Linked DNA regions of Homo sapiens: regions 1, 3 and 4 are each linked to region 2. The links are contacts of gene promoters, found by promoter capture Hi-C in human tissues and cell types (Jung and others, 2019). All regions are on one chromosome and are shown on one strand. The core of a region is centred on a gene start or on the middle of the fragment in contact, and the rest is flanking DNA. Distances in the headings are between cores, read along the strand shown. Region 1 has its middle 18 kb from the start of MIR1538. Region 2 holds the start of NQO1 (NAD(P)H quinone dehydrogenase 1). Region 3 overlaps WWP2 (WW domain containing E3 ubiquitin protein ligase 2). Region 4 overlaps WWP2 (WW domain containing E3 ubiquitin protein ligase 2).

Region 1 (3,228 bases), core at 15-2,514, 180 kb before region 2:
CACTGTGCCTGGCCAGCAAAAAAGGATTTAGACTATTATGTAAACTTCAGTGATAAAGCAGCAGCAAAATTAGAGAGGATTGACTCCAATTTTCAAAGAAGTTGCACTGTGGGTAAAATGCTATCAAACAGCATCACGAGCTGGGTACAGTGGTGTCCACCTATCATCCCAGCTATTCAGGAGGCTGAGGAGAAAGAAGTGCTTGGGCCCAGGAGTTCGAGGCCAGCCTGGGCAAGATAGAGAGACCCCCCGCCCCCCCACATCTCTAAAACAAACAAACAAACAAAAAAACCCAGCGTCAAATGCTCCAGAGAAATCTTTGTTGAAAGAAAGGATTGATGTGGCAAACTTCACTGTGGTCTTATTTTAAGAATTGCCTCAGCCACCCCAGCCTTCAGCAACCACCACCCTAATTAGTCAGCAGCCATCAACATCTCAGCAAGACCCTTCCCCAGCACAAACATTTCAACCCACTGAAAGCTTGGATGATTGTTAGCATTTTTTAGCAATAAAGTTTTTTTTTTTTTCTGAAACGGAGTCTAGCTCTGTTGCTCAGGGTGGAGTGCAGTGGTGCAATCTTGGCTCACTGCAACCTCCGCCTCCTGAGTTCAAGTGATTCTCCTGCCTCAGCCTCCTGAGTAGCTGGGATTACAGGCGCCCACCACCCACACCCGGCTGATTTTTTTGTATTTTTAGTAGAGTCGGAGTTGCGCCATGTTGGCCAGGCTGGTCTTGAACTCCTGACCTCAAGTGATCCACCCACCTTGGCCTCCCAAAGTGCTGGGAGTACAGGCATGTGCCACTGTGCCCAGCCAGCAATAAAGTATTTTTAAATTAAAGTACGGGCCAGGCGCGGTGGCTCACGCCTGTAATCCCAGCACTTTGGGAGGCTGAGGCAGGCGGATCATCTGAGGTCAGGAATTTGAGACTAGCCTGGCCAACATGGCGAAACCCTGTCTCTACTAAAAATACAAAATTAGCCAGGCACGGTGGTGTGCACATGTAATTCCAGCTACTCAGGAGGCTGAGGCAGCAGAATCACTTGAACCGAGGAGGCGGAGGTTGCAGTGAGCTGAGATCGTGCCATTGCACTCCAGCCTGGGCAAAAAGAGCAAAACTCCGTTTCAAAAAATAATGATAATTAATTAATGAATTAAAGTATGTACAGTTTTTTAGACATGATGCTGTTGCACATTTAATAGGCTATAGTGCAGTGTAAACATAACTTCTATATGCACCAGAAAACCAGAAAATTCATATGACTCACTTTATTGCTTTGGTCTGGAAATGAACCTGAAATATCTTCAAGGTATACTTATATTTGTGTATAATCTTTTGTTGGGTAAATGAGCTGTAAATAACTTCAGTTTATATGTTATCCTTTGATATTTTCTATAATATATTTTGTATACAGATATTTTGAATTTAATGTAGTCCAATATTTTTCTTTATGCTTTGTACTTTTGAGTCTTTACAAAATCTTTCCCTGTTCTGATGCCATAAAGACATTCTGCATTTTCTTCCAAAAATTTTTACATGTTGCTTTTTACCTTTCAAATTTTTAATCCATTTAAAACTTATTTTCATCTACGTAAGGAACTAATTAGTTTTGTGGGGGGGTTTGTATAAATAATTGTTCTAGCACCATTGCGTTTTTCATTTTTTTCCCACTGATTGATTTATAAAGCCATTTCTATTTTACGACAAGTTTCTATATGTATTTAGGCTGTTTCTGGCTTATCTGCTCCTTTAATCTGTTTGTCTATTCCTAAACAAATGTTGCATTTTTTTTTTTTAATAATACGGCTTTATGACAAATGTTTCTTATCTGGCAGGTCGAGTTCCCTCCTCTATGTACTTTTTCCCCCCAAATTATCATGGCTATTTTTGGCCTATTTGTTCTTTCATATGAAATTTAGGATCAGTTTATCAAGAGCCATAAAAAGTCCTTTGGGAGTTTTGGTTGGTGTTATAATGTATTGATAGACAACTTTGTAATATTGAGTCCTTCTATTCAGGAACATAGTATCAGCTCTATTTTTTTAAGTTTTCCTTTGTGTCCTTCAATAAACATTTTGTAAATTTCTCCTTAAAAGTATTTCCCGGTCGGGCACGGTGGCTCACTCCTGTAATCCCAGCACTTTGGGAGGCTGAGGTGGGCGGATCACAAGGTCAAGAGATTGAGACCATCTGGGCCAACATGGTGAAACCCTGTCTCTACTAAAAATACAAAAATTAGCTGGGCGTGGTGGCACGCGCCTGTAGTCCCAGCTACACGGGAGGCTGAGGCAGGAGAATCGCTTGAACCTGGGAGGCGGAGGTTGGAGTGAGCCGAGATGGCGCCACTGCACTCCAGCCTGTTTAGAGCGACATCTCAACAACAACAACAACAAAAAGGATTTCCCATCTTTTGTTATATTTTCATGGGCGTCTCATAGTTTTGTTGCTCTTGAAATTGTATTTTTTATAATTAACGACATTTTTGAATGTCTTTGCCAGCAAGTTGCTGTATTATTTTAATATTTTTCTTGGACTTCCTATGTAGATAAACATTTCAACTGTAAATAACAAAGATTTTTCTTCCTTACTTTGCAACCCTTTCTATTGCATTGACTAGAACCTCCAGGACAATATATAATAGTAGCACTGAGAGGAAAACATCTTTGTCTTCTGTATTTTTTTCTGTTTCTGAGTCAGGGTCTTGCCCTGTCACCCAGGCTGGAGCGCAGTGGCATGATCATAGCTCACTGCATCCTCGAACTCCTGGGCTCAAGTGATCCTTCTGCATCACTCTTCCAAGTAACTAGGACTACAGGTGCATGCCACTATGCCTAGCTAAATTTTGAAATTTTTTTTGTAGAGATGGGATCTTGCTATGTTGCTCAGGCTGGTCTCAAGGGGTCCTCCCACATAGGTGCCCTAAGGTGCTGGGATTACAGGCATAAACCATTGTGCCTGGCCCCTATAACATTTATTTATCTGATGTTTGTTTCTAACCAAGATAGAACGCTTAATTCTAGAACATAGATTAGAATATGTTTCCTGTCTAATTACAAATATTTTTGGAAGTTGAGCAGGAATAAGCTGATTAAAGGACACAGAATTCGAAGTACTCTCAAGCTGGGATCAATTTCTTTAAATTGATTTGCGCATGTAATTTCAAACTTTAAAGAAACAGAAGGAAAAAATAAGACAAAGAGGAGAAACTATTTGTTCTTTATACATTTA
Region 2 (2,796 bases), core at 103-2,602:
CTGCAAGGGCAGTCTGTTCCTCCACTCACTTTGACCAAGATGGGCTTCTTTGTGTACAGGCGCATTTTTAGAGGCAGGACCAGGTCCACAGGGAAGGAAATTACAAAACACAGGATTCTGCCCCAGATGAGGCAACAGCTTTCTAAATCTTAGTACTGTCCAATCTCAGAGTGAGATTATTTGGGAAACAGCTCTCAATCCCTGCAGTTGTCTCAGCTGGTTATTTATGCCTTGGGTGGAGCTGGGGTGACCTCTGAGTTCCCCTAGGGTCGATGGCCGAGTGGGAAGGCTCTATCACTGAAGTGGACCCAATACTAGAAACGGATCCAGTACGATCTGATCAGGTTTGCCTAATCCAAGGGCCTCAATGGAAAATGCCTCCCAAGGCCAGGCACGGTGGCTCACGTCAGTAATCTCAGCACTTGGGGAGGCTGAGGTGGGTGGATCACCTGAGGTCAGGAGTTCAAGACCGCGCTGGCCAACTTGGCGAAACCCGTCTGTACTAAAAATATAAAAATTAGCCGCGCATGATGGCGCACTCCTGTAATCCCAGCTACTCGGGAGGCTGAGATGGGAGAATCGCTTGAACCCGGGAGGCGGAAGTTTCGCTGAGCTGAGATAGCGCCATTGCACTACAGCCTGGGCGACAAGAGCAAAACTCCGTCTCAAACAAAACAAAACAAAACAAAACAAAACAAAACCTGTGCCTGGCAGCCTGGAGCCGGTTCTGGTCTCCGTCAAACCAAAGGCATCAGTTTCCTCCACTCCTGTCCACCAATCGCCAGATATTCTCATTTTCTTCAGAAGCTCGGAATCCACATTTTTAAGTGAAATCACCCATTTTAATGTTAGCAACTTATTTCAAAGTGTTTTAGATACTATAGACCAAAAGAGGTATGGGCTGTGACCGTAAGCCTGATTTGGCCTCTGACGGCCAGTTTCTGACCACAGTTTTGGAGGGAATTTCTGCTTCCAAGGTCAAGTTTCTCCTAAATGCCCACTAGAGTTCGTGGGGTGGAGTGAGGAAGGATCCGCGACACCGGATACAAACAGAAGCTCTCCTTCTCCCGGAGTCCGATCAAGGCTCATCCCAGGTCCCTAATCTCTTCCCTTTGTGGGTTTTGAGTCAAGGAACAAAATTCAGGGCCAAGCCCCTACAACCTCCTCCACAGGCACCAGTGCTCGAGAGACGACCGCCAAGCACCCCGCCCTTTGCAGCACTCACCGACCATGGCTCTGGTGCAGTCCGGGGCGCTGATTGGCTGGGCTCGTGGTTGCCGGGGCGACCCTGGCCGGAACTAGGCTCTCGGTGAGCTGGGCGGCTCCGGCTGCAACCTTGTGGGAGTCGCGTGTGTAGTGCACGGTGCATTCTCTCTTATATATCCTGTCCGGCCCGTTTGAGGTGGACAGCCTACAAGGGCGGGACCCAACGCCTGAATCCTGGGGTGCTGGGCGGAGGATGCTGAGGCTGCAGCTCCAGGAAGGGAGGGAGCCTGGGGGATGAAGGAGGGGCCTCTCCACTCTCACCCGCCGGAGCAACTGGTGGAAGTCAAGAAAAGTCTCTCGGGGCTGGGGGAGGGGATTGTAGGGGTGTGTGTGACAGAGGCCTCAAAAATCTGGCTGGGGGTGCTAAGGCAAGCCCATCTGCGCACTGTGCCCTGAGGTGCAAGAGGATGCAGGGTGGAAGTCGTCCCAAGAGAGTCCAGGGATCAAGTGGGCATGCCCTTTTAGCCTTGGCACGAAATGGAGCAGAAAAAGAGCCGGATGCGGATTACTGTGGTGCCCTAGGCTCAGATTCTGCTGAGTCACTGTGACTGCGGATTTGGAAGGCTGAGAGTCCTGGGGAGACATGCTCCGTGGAGACGAATTTGTTTCTTCCTTTGCAAGATTCAGATTCTGCACTTGGGGGCCCATACAACACACTTCCCTGGGTGCATGCCACTGCACCACCCCTGCTCCTCAAGGCAGGTAATGGGGGAACTAATTGGTTTTGTTTCCCATGAGCTAAGGCAAGGCTGGTGTGGAGATAGCAGTTATAGGGAAGCATATTAAAGAATAGCCAAAACGGGACCAGGCGCGGTGGCTCACGCCTGTAATCCCAGCAATATGGGAGGCCGAGGTGGGTGGATCACCTGAGGTCAGGAGTTCGAGACCAGCCTGGCCAACCTGGTGAAGCCCCGTCTGTACTGAAAAATTAGCTGGGCGTGATGGCGGGCGCCTGTAAGTCCCAGCTACTCGGGAGGCTGAGGCAGGAGAATCGCTTGAACCCGGAAGGCGGAGGTTGCAGTGGGTCGAGATCGTGCCACTGCACTCCCGCCTGGGTGACGAAGTGAGACTCCGTCTCAAAAAAAACTCTATAAAGTAAAAGTTACTGTAAAGAAGGAGATATACTCTCAGTAGGTGAAGGAAAAAGAACTAGAGCTTTAAAGTGGTAATTAACCATCAGAAGAATCACAGATGGGGGAGGTGAGGATGACACAGGGCCCTTCCGTTGTCCCTCCAGTGCAAAAGTTAAGGAGGCACCAGAAAACTGGTTTCCAACTCCCGACCTCAGGTGATCCTACCGCCTCGGCCTCCCGAAGTGCTGGGATTACAGGCATGAGCCACCGCGCCCGGCCCCATCGTGACATTTTTGCATTCATTTTGATGCAACAAGAGAGGACTATATTATTTACACGTATTTACAAATTACTTTGGGAGGCTGAGGCAGGAGGATCACTTGAGCCCAAGAGTTTGAGAAAAGCCTGAGCAACAAAGTGAGACCCCATCTGACAAAATAGTATAAAAGGACGTTTT
Region 3 (3,276 bases), core at 569-3,068, 130 kb after region 2:
TCTTTGAAATTTTACCTTTAGAACCAGTAAAAAAAAAAAGTTTTCTTTTAAATAAAGTTATACATTTTTCTTTACACTTAGAAAAAGGATGATGAATTGGAGACTTCCGAGGAGTTATTTCTTCCACCTGGTTTGTGGTTTTTTTGGGGAGGAAGGGGCTTGGGGGAAGTGGTGCTGAAGCTTTCACTCAAACACCAGGCCACGGCTCTGTGTGCCTCATTCATCTTTGTGTCCCCAGCAGGACCTAGAATAGTGCCTCACTGCACGTAGTAGCAGCTCAATAAATATTTGCTGAGCTGAAAGAGTCTCGTGTTCCTGCTCTTCATTCGCCAAAACTTCTGGGTGGGTCATGTTGCTGGTTTACGTTCCCTGGCGCCTTGACTCCTGAGATGCGATAATTTGAGGACCACAGAGAAGAGGGGGCGCCCTTTATCACAGCCGCCTTGTGCTTGCAAGGTGAACCACCAAGAGTGTGCTGGGGTCCCACTGCCTGCACAGTCTCTGTGGCTTCATCTGTTTTTTTCTTCATGATTGATATTTCTGTGTTGAATGCTTTTCACCGACTGTTCTTTTCAAATCCTTGCAGCTTTTAAGGTTAGTATTGGAATCAGAGAAGAATTGACACATAAATAAGTCTTGTTTGGGAAAAGAAGGTGTAAAGTCCGTGTACTTCAACTCTGCCAGAAAAGAATGTTACTTACCCTCTAAGAATAGGTAATATCTCATTTATACTAGGTGTTCAAATTCCCAAGTGATTATTGAATCTTAGGATTGAGTGTCTCCTTGAGGACATTAGGATCACTGGAATGCTGCTCCTTCGACATGGGCACTGGATCCCACAGAGTGATGCCATAACTGTATGAGGGCTGCTGAACTAGACCAGCAAGAACTGGGTCAAGGCTGTTCCCTAGTCATGCATGTATTTGAGAGTTCCATCTTCTACTGTGGAAATTGAATTGTCATTTATTTGCATTCATTTTCTATTGCTCTGTAACAAATCACCACAAACTCAGGGCTTAAAACAACACCATTTATTAGCTCACAGTTCTGTAGGTCATAAGTCCAGGATCACACGGCTGACTTTTCCCTTCAGGGTCTCACAAGGCCAAAATCAAGGCTCTGGCAGGACAACATTCTTATCTGCATACACTGGGGAAGAATTCATATCAAAGGTCATTCAGGGCTGGGCACAGTGGCTCACGCCTGTAATTCCAGCACTTTGGCAGGCTGAGGTGGGCAGATGGCTTGAGTACAGGAGTTTGAGACCAGCCTAAGCAACATAGCCAAACCCCATCTCAACAAAAAAAATACAGAAATTAGCTAGGCATGGTGGCGCATGCCTGTCATCCCGGTTACTCAGGAGGCTGAGGCGGGAGGATCGCTTGAGCCCAGGGAGGTCGAGGATGCAGTGAGCTGTGATTGCACCACTGCACTCCAGCCTGGGCGACAGAGGGAGACCCTGTCTCAAAAAAAAAGAAAAAGAAAAAAAAAGTCATTCAGGTCCTTAGCTGAATTTAGTTATTTGCAGTTGTAGGACTGAGGTGCCCATTCCTTGCTGACCATCAGCGGGGGTCCCTCTCAACTCCTTAAGCTTCCCCCTGGCCCCGACCCCTGCATTCCTTCTCACGGTGCCCCCTCCACCTTCGAGCCAGGAAAGGAGTGTCAGATCTCCCTGTGATTTGAATCTCTCTGATTTTCTCTCCTGCCACCTGCTGGAGAAGGCGCTCTGCTTCCAGGAGGTGATGTGATGCTAATTAGACTGAGAGAGCACCGCCCCCCACCCCCGCCCCGCCCGATGATCCCCTTTCTTAAGGTCTGCTGTGGTACACGACGACATACTTGACGACATACTCAAGGGTGTGGCACCTTGTCATATTCACAGGTTTTAGGCATTGGAGGGGGGCTAGAGTGAGAGGGATGTCATTTTAGAAATTCTCCCCACAGTAGAAAGACTCTCTCTAATGGGCCAGCCATGGTGGCTCAGACCTGTAATCCCAGCACTTTGGGAGGCCGAGGTGGGAGGATCACTTCACCTTAGGAGTTCAAGACCCCCATCGCTATAAAAAAAAATCAAAAAAATTAGCCAGGCGTGGTGGTCCGATTCCATTCTTTAAAGGAGTCGGGGAGGTGATGAGTGACTGGATTGGAAAGAATATGCAAAGTACTGGAGGTTACAGGCCCAAGAGTGATTTTGAACCTGACAGCTTGCATCTTTCCTTCATTCAACAGATATTTCCTGAATCCTACTGTGGGCCAGGCACACACTAGGTGCTGAGTCTCCAGAGGTTCACAAAACAAGACATGATCTCTGCCCTCATGAATGTGTAGTGACACATAGCAGTGCCATAAAGGGAACAATTAGGATGTTATGAGAGAATGAAAGGAAATTTACTGTAGCCTGGGAGATGAGGGACATTTGGACTGAGATTTGGCCTAGGAATTTGGCCACCTGGGTGGAAAGTCCAGGAAGAGAATGCCGGGCAAGTAGATCAGCAAAGGGTCTGACTCTCCCTTGGTAGGGGTCTAGAGAGGTATTTTGAGGGATGTCCATTGAACATATTCTTTTTGGAGCCTGCCTCCGTCCTGCTGAATTCCTGCCTTGTGATTTGTCGTGTCAGAACACTTAGAAATAATGCTCTACCCAGCTCATGCCTCTAATCCCAACACTTTGGGAGGCCGAGGCTGGAGGATTGCTTGAGGCCAGGAGTTTGAGACCAGCCAGGACAACATAGCAAGACTCGATCTCTAGTTAAAAAAAAAAAAAGGAAAGAAAGAACACTCTAATATACTGTAGTCCCCCATTCATTCAAGGTCCTGTGTAGTCCTTTCTGGTCTGGAGCTATAGTAAAAGGAGGCAGTGAGTGGGCCAGATTCAAACAGGGAATGATGCCAGTAGCGAGAAAGTGAAGAGGCTTTTCTGGCGCACCTGTACAGGTTGTGCTCTGCATTCCTTGGGGGCCAGCCCCATGGAGATTCCTCCTGTGCACAGTGGAGGTTGATGGGGATGCTCATCTCCTAAGCGGCAACAGTGTCCTATGCACTCATAATTCAGGGTCAGGGGATCTCAGGTCATAGGACAAATCACAGGCTGCTGTCTCTGTTCAGGGTACCTCAAGCCATCAATGGCCACGTTGAGCAGGTGAACACTTCCCCTCTGAACTCTCTAGCTCTCTTTGAAGTTTGGGAGGGCATTTGAGCACTCTTCTCAGCTAAGCCCAACATACGGCCTGGAAGTAGATTGGACAAGTCACCATTTACTATACCTTCTCTCTCAAG
Region 4 (2,810 bases), core at 31-2,530, 150 kb after region 2:
AGCCTGGGCAACAGAGTGAGACCTTGTGTCAAAAAAAAAAAAATTACAGCAAAAGTATATATCTCATAAGTTGTCATAAGGCATAAATTACAGACACACCTTCAAGATATTATGGGTTTGTTTCCAGACTATCACAATAAAGTGAATATCACAAAAAAGCAAGTCACATGAATTTTTTGGTTTCCCAGTGCATATAAAAGTTATGTTTACACTATACTATGGTCCATAAAAGGTACAACAGCATTATGTCTAAAAAATGTATACACTTTAATTAAAAAATACTTTATTGCTAAAAATGCTAACAATTATCTGAGCCTTTAGCCAGTGGAAATCTCTTCACTGGTGGAAGGTCTCTCCTCGATGTTGATGGCTGCTGACTGATCAGGATGGTAGTTGTTGAAGGTCAGGGTGGCTGTGGCAATTTCTAATAAGACAACATGAAGTTCACAGCATCAGTTGACTCTCCCTTTCATCAAAGATTTCTCTGTAGCATGCGACGCTGTTTGACAGCATTTTAGCAACAGTAGAAAATCTTTCAAATTTGCAGTCAATTCTCTCAAACTTTGCTGCAGCTTTATCAACTAAGTATATGGAATATTCTAAATCCTTGTTGTCATTTCAACAGTGTTCACAGCATTTTCACTAGAAGTTGATTCCATCTCAAGAAACTGCTTTCTTTGCTCATCCATAAGACACAACTCCTAATCTATTCCAGTCTTCTTATGAGATTGAAGCAGTTTAGTCACATATTCAGGCCTACTTCTTATTCTAGCTCTCTTGCTATTTCCACCACACCTGCATTTCCTTCCTCCACTGAAATCTTGAACCCCTCAGAGCCATCTATCAGGGTTTGAGCTTCTTCCAAACTCCTGTTGTGTTGATATGTTGACCTCCTCCCATGAATCACAAATGTTCTTAATGGCATCTAGAATGGTGAGTCCTTTTTAGTTTTTATTTATTTTTTATTTTTTTATTTTTTTGAGATGGAGTTTTGCTCTTGTTGCCCAGGCTGGCATGCAGTGGCATGATCTCAGCTCACTGCTGCAACCTCCGCCTCCTGGGTTAAAGCAGTTCTCATACCTCAGTCCCAGGAGTAGCTGGGATTATAGGCATGCACCACCACACCCAGCTAATTTTTGTATTTTCAGTAGAGATGGGGTTTCATCATGTGGGCCAGTCTGGTCTTGAACTCCTGACCTCAGGTGATCTGCCTGCCTTGGCCTCCCAAAGTGCTGGGATTGTAGGCTTAAGCCTTTAGGAGGTTTTTAATGGGTTTTGGCCACATCCATCAGAGGAATCATGATCTAAGGCAGTTATAGCCTTATAAAATGTATTTGGTTTTTTTGGGGCATGTTTTTTGGGGTTTTTTTTTTTTTTCGTTTTTTGTTTTTGAGATGCAGTCTCACTCTGTTGCCTAGGCTGGAATGCCGTGGCATGATCTTGGCTCACTATAACCTACACCTCCCGGGTTCAAGTGATTCTTGTGCCTCAGCCTCCAAAGTAGCTGGGATTACAGGCATCTGCTACCACATCCGGCTAATTTTTGTATTTTAGTAGAGACAGGGTGTCATCATGTTGGGCAGGCTGGTCTCAAACTCCTGACCTCAAGTGATTCACTTACCTTGGCCTCCCAAAGTGCTGAGATTATAGGCGTGAGCCACTGTGCCCAGCCATAAAATGTATTTCTTAAATAGTAAGACTTGAAAGGCAAGATGACTCCTTGATCCATGGGCTACAGCATGGATGTTGTGTTAGCGGGCATGAAAACAACATTAATCTCCTTGTAAATCTCCATCAGAGCTCTTGGGTAACCAGGTGCATTATCCATGAGCAGTAATATGTTGAAAGGAATCTTTTTTCCTGAACAGTAGGTCTCAACAGTGGGCTTAAAATATTCAGTAAACCATGCTGCAGACAGATGTGCTGTGATCCAGGCTTTGTTGCTCCATTTATAAAACACAAGCAGAGTAGATTTAGCATAATTGATAAGGGCCCTAGGATTTTCAGAATGTTAAGTGAACATTGGCTTCAACTTAAAATCACCAGCAACATTAGCTGCTAAGAAGAGAGACAACCTGTCCTTTGAAGCTTTGAAGGCATGAACTTCTCTTTATCTATGAATGTCCAAGATAGCATCTTCTTGCAATAGAAGGCTCTTTCGTCAACATTGAAAAGCTGTTGTTTCGTGTGGCCAACCCCGTCAATGATCTTAGCTAGATCTTCTGGATAGCTTGCTGCAGCTTCTTCCTCAGCATTTTCTTCACTTGGACTTTTACGCTGTGTTTGAGGGATCTTTCCTTAAACCTCATGAACCAATCTTTGCTATCTTCCAACTTTTCTTCTGCAACTTCCTCACCACTCTCAGCCTTCATAGAATTGAAGAGGGTTCGGGTCTTGCTCCAGATTAGGCTTTGGCTTAAGAGAATGTCGAGGCTGGTTTGATCTTCTTTTCAGACTACTCCCTATCGCTTTCTCCCTATCACTTTTCTTGGTAAGGCTGTTTTACTTTCTTATCACTCAAGTGTTCATCAGAGTAGCACTTTTAATTTCCTTCAAGAACTTCTCCTTTGCATTCGCAACTTGGCTAACTGTCACAAGAGTCCCAGCTTTGGCCTGTCTTGGCTTTCAACCCACCTTCCTTATCACTAAACTTAATAATATCTAGTATTTGATTTAAAGTGAGAGACATATGACTCTTCCTTTTGCTTGAACACTTAGAGGCCAATGTAGGGTATAAGGAGAGAGAGAGAGAGAGAACAGCCAGGTGGTGGAGCCGTCAGAACACACACAATATTTATTATTAAATTTGC

What was found. Contacts are between HindIII fragments. The study calls those that stand out against the background at their distance.
Region 1: a contact is called between a fragment that was not itself captured here and the fragment with the promoter of NQO1 in region 2, in 1 of the 25 tissues and cell types used here (pancreas).
Region 3: a fragment that was not itself captured here is called in contact with the fragment with the promoter of NQO1 in region 2 in 1 of the 25 tissues and cell types used here (pancreas).
Region 4: a contact is called between a fragment that was not itself captured here and the fragment with the promoter of NQO1 in region 2, in 1 of the 25 tissues and cell types used here (aorta).

Annotation. Positions count from the first base shown.
Region 1 is chr16:69,546,331-69,549,558 of GRCh38, forward strand. No RefSeq gene overlaps it. Among named protein-coding and RNA genes, the nearest start is that of MIR1538, 18 kb to the right of the region's middle. The HindIII fragment of the contact is 7,884 bases long and covers 1-3,228 here.
Region 2 is chr16:69,725,208-69,728,003 of GRCh38, forward strand. It overlaps NQO1 (NAD(P)H quinone dehydrogenase 1), which reads right to left and starts at 1,353. Exons shown (of 6, transcript NM_000903.3): 1 at 1,226-1,353. The coding sequence starts at 1,232. NQO1-DT (NQO1 divergent transcript) reads left to right here and starts at 1,520. Exons shown (of 2, transcript NR_186363.1): 1 at 1,520-1,968. RefSeq lists enhancers at 836-1,828, 915-2,114, 1,361-1,620, 1,829-2,796. The HindIII fragment of the contact is 19,943 bases long and covers 1-2,796 here.
Region 3 is chr16:69,858,090-69,861,365 of GRCh38, forward strand. All of the region lies in intron 6 of WWP2 (WW domain containing E3 ubiquitin protein ligase 2), which reads left to right. Among named protein-coding and RNA genes, the nearest start is that of MIR140, 73 kb to the right of the region's middle. The HindIII fragment of the contact is 7,416 bases long and covers 1-3,276 here.
Region 4 is chr16:69,874,992-69,877,801 of GRCh38, forward strand. The region is part of intron 7 of WWP2 (WW domain containing E3 ubiquitin protein ligase 2); the gene reads left to right. Among named protein-coding and RNA genes, the nearest start is that of MIR140, 57 kb to the right of the region's middle. The HindIII fragment of the contact is 7,914 bases long and covers 1-2,810 here.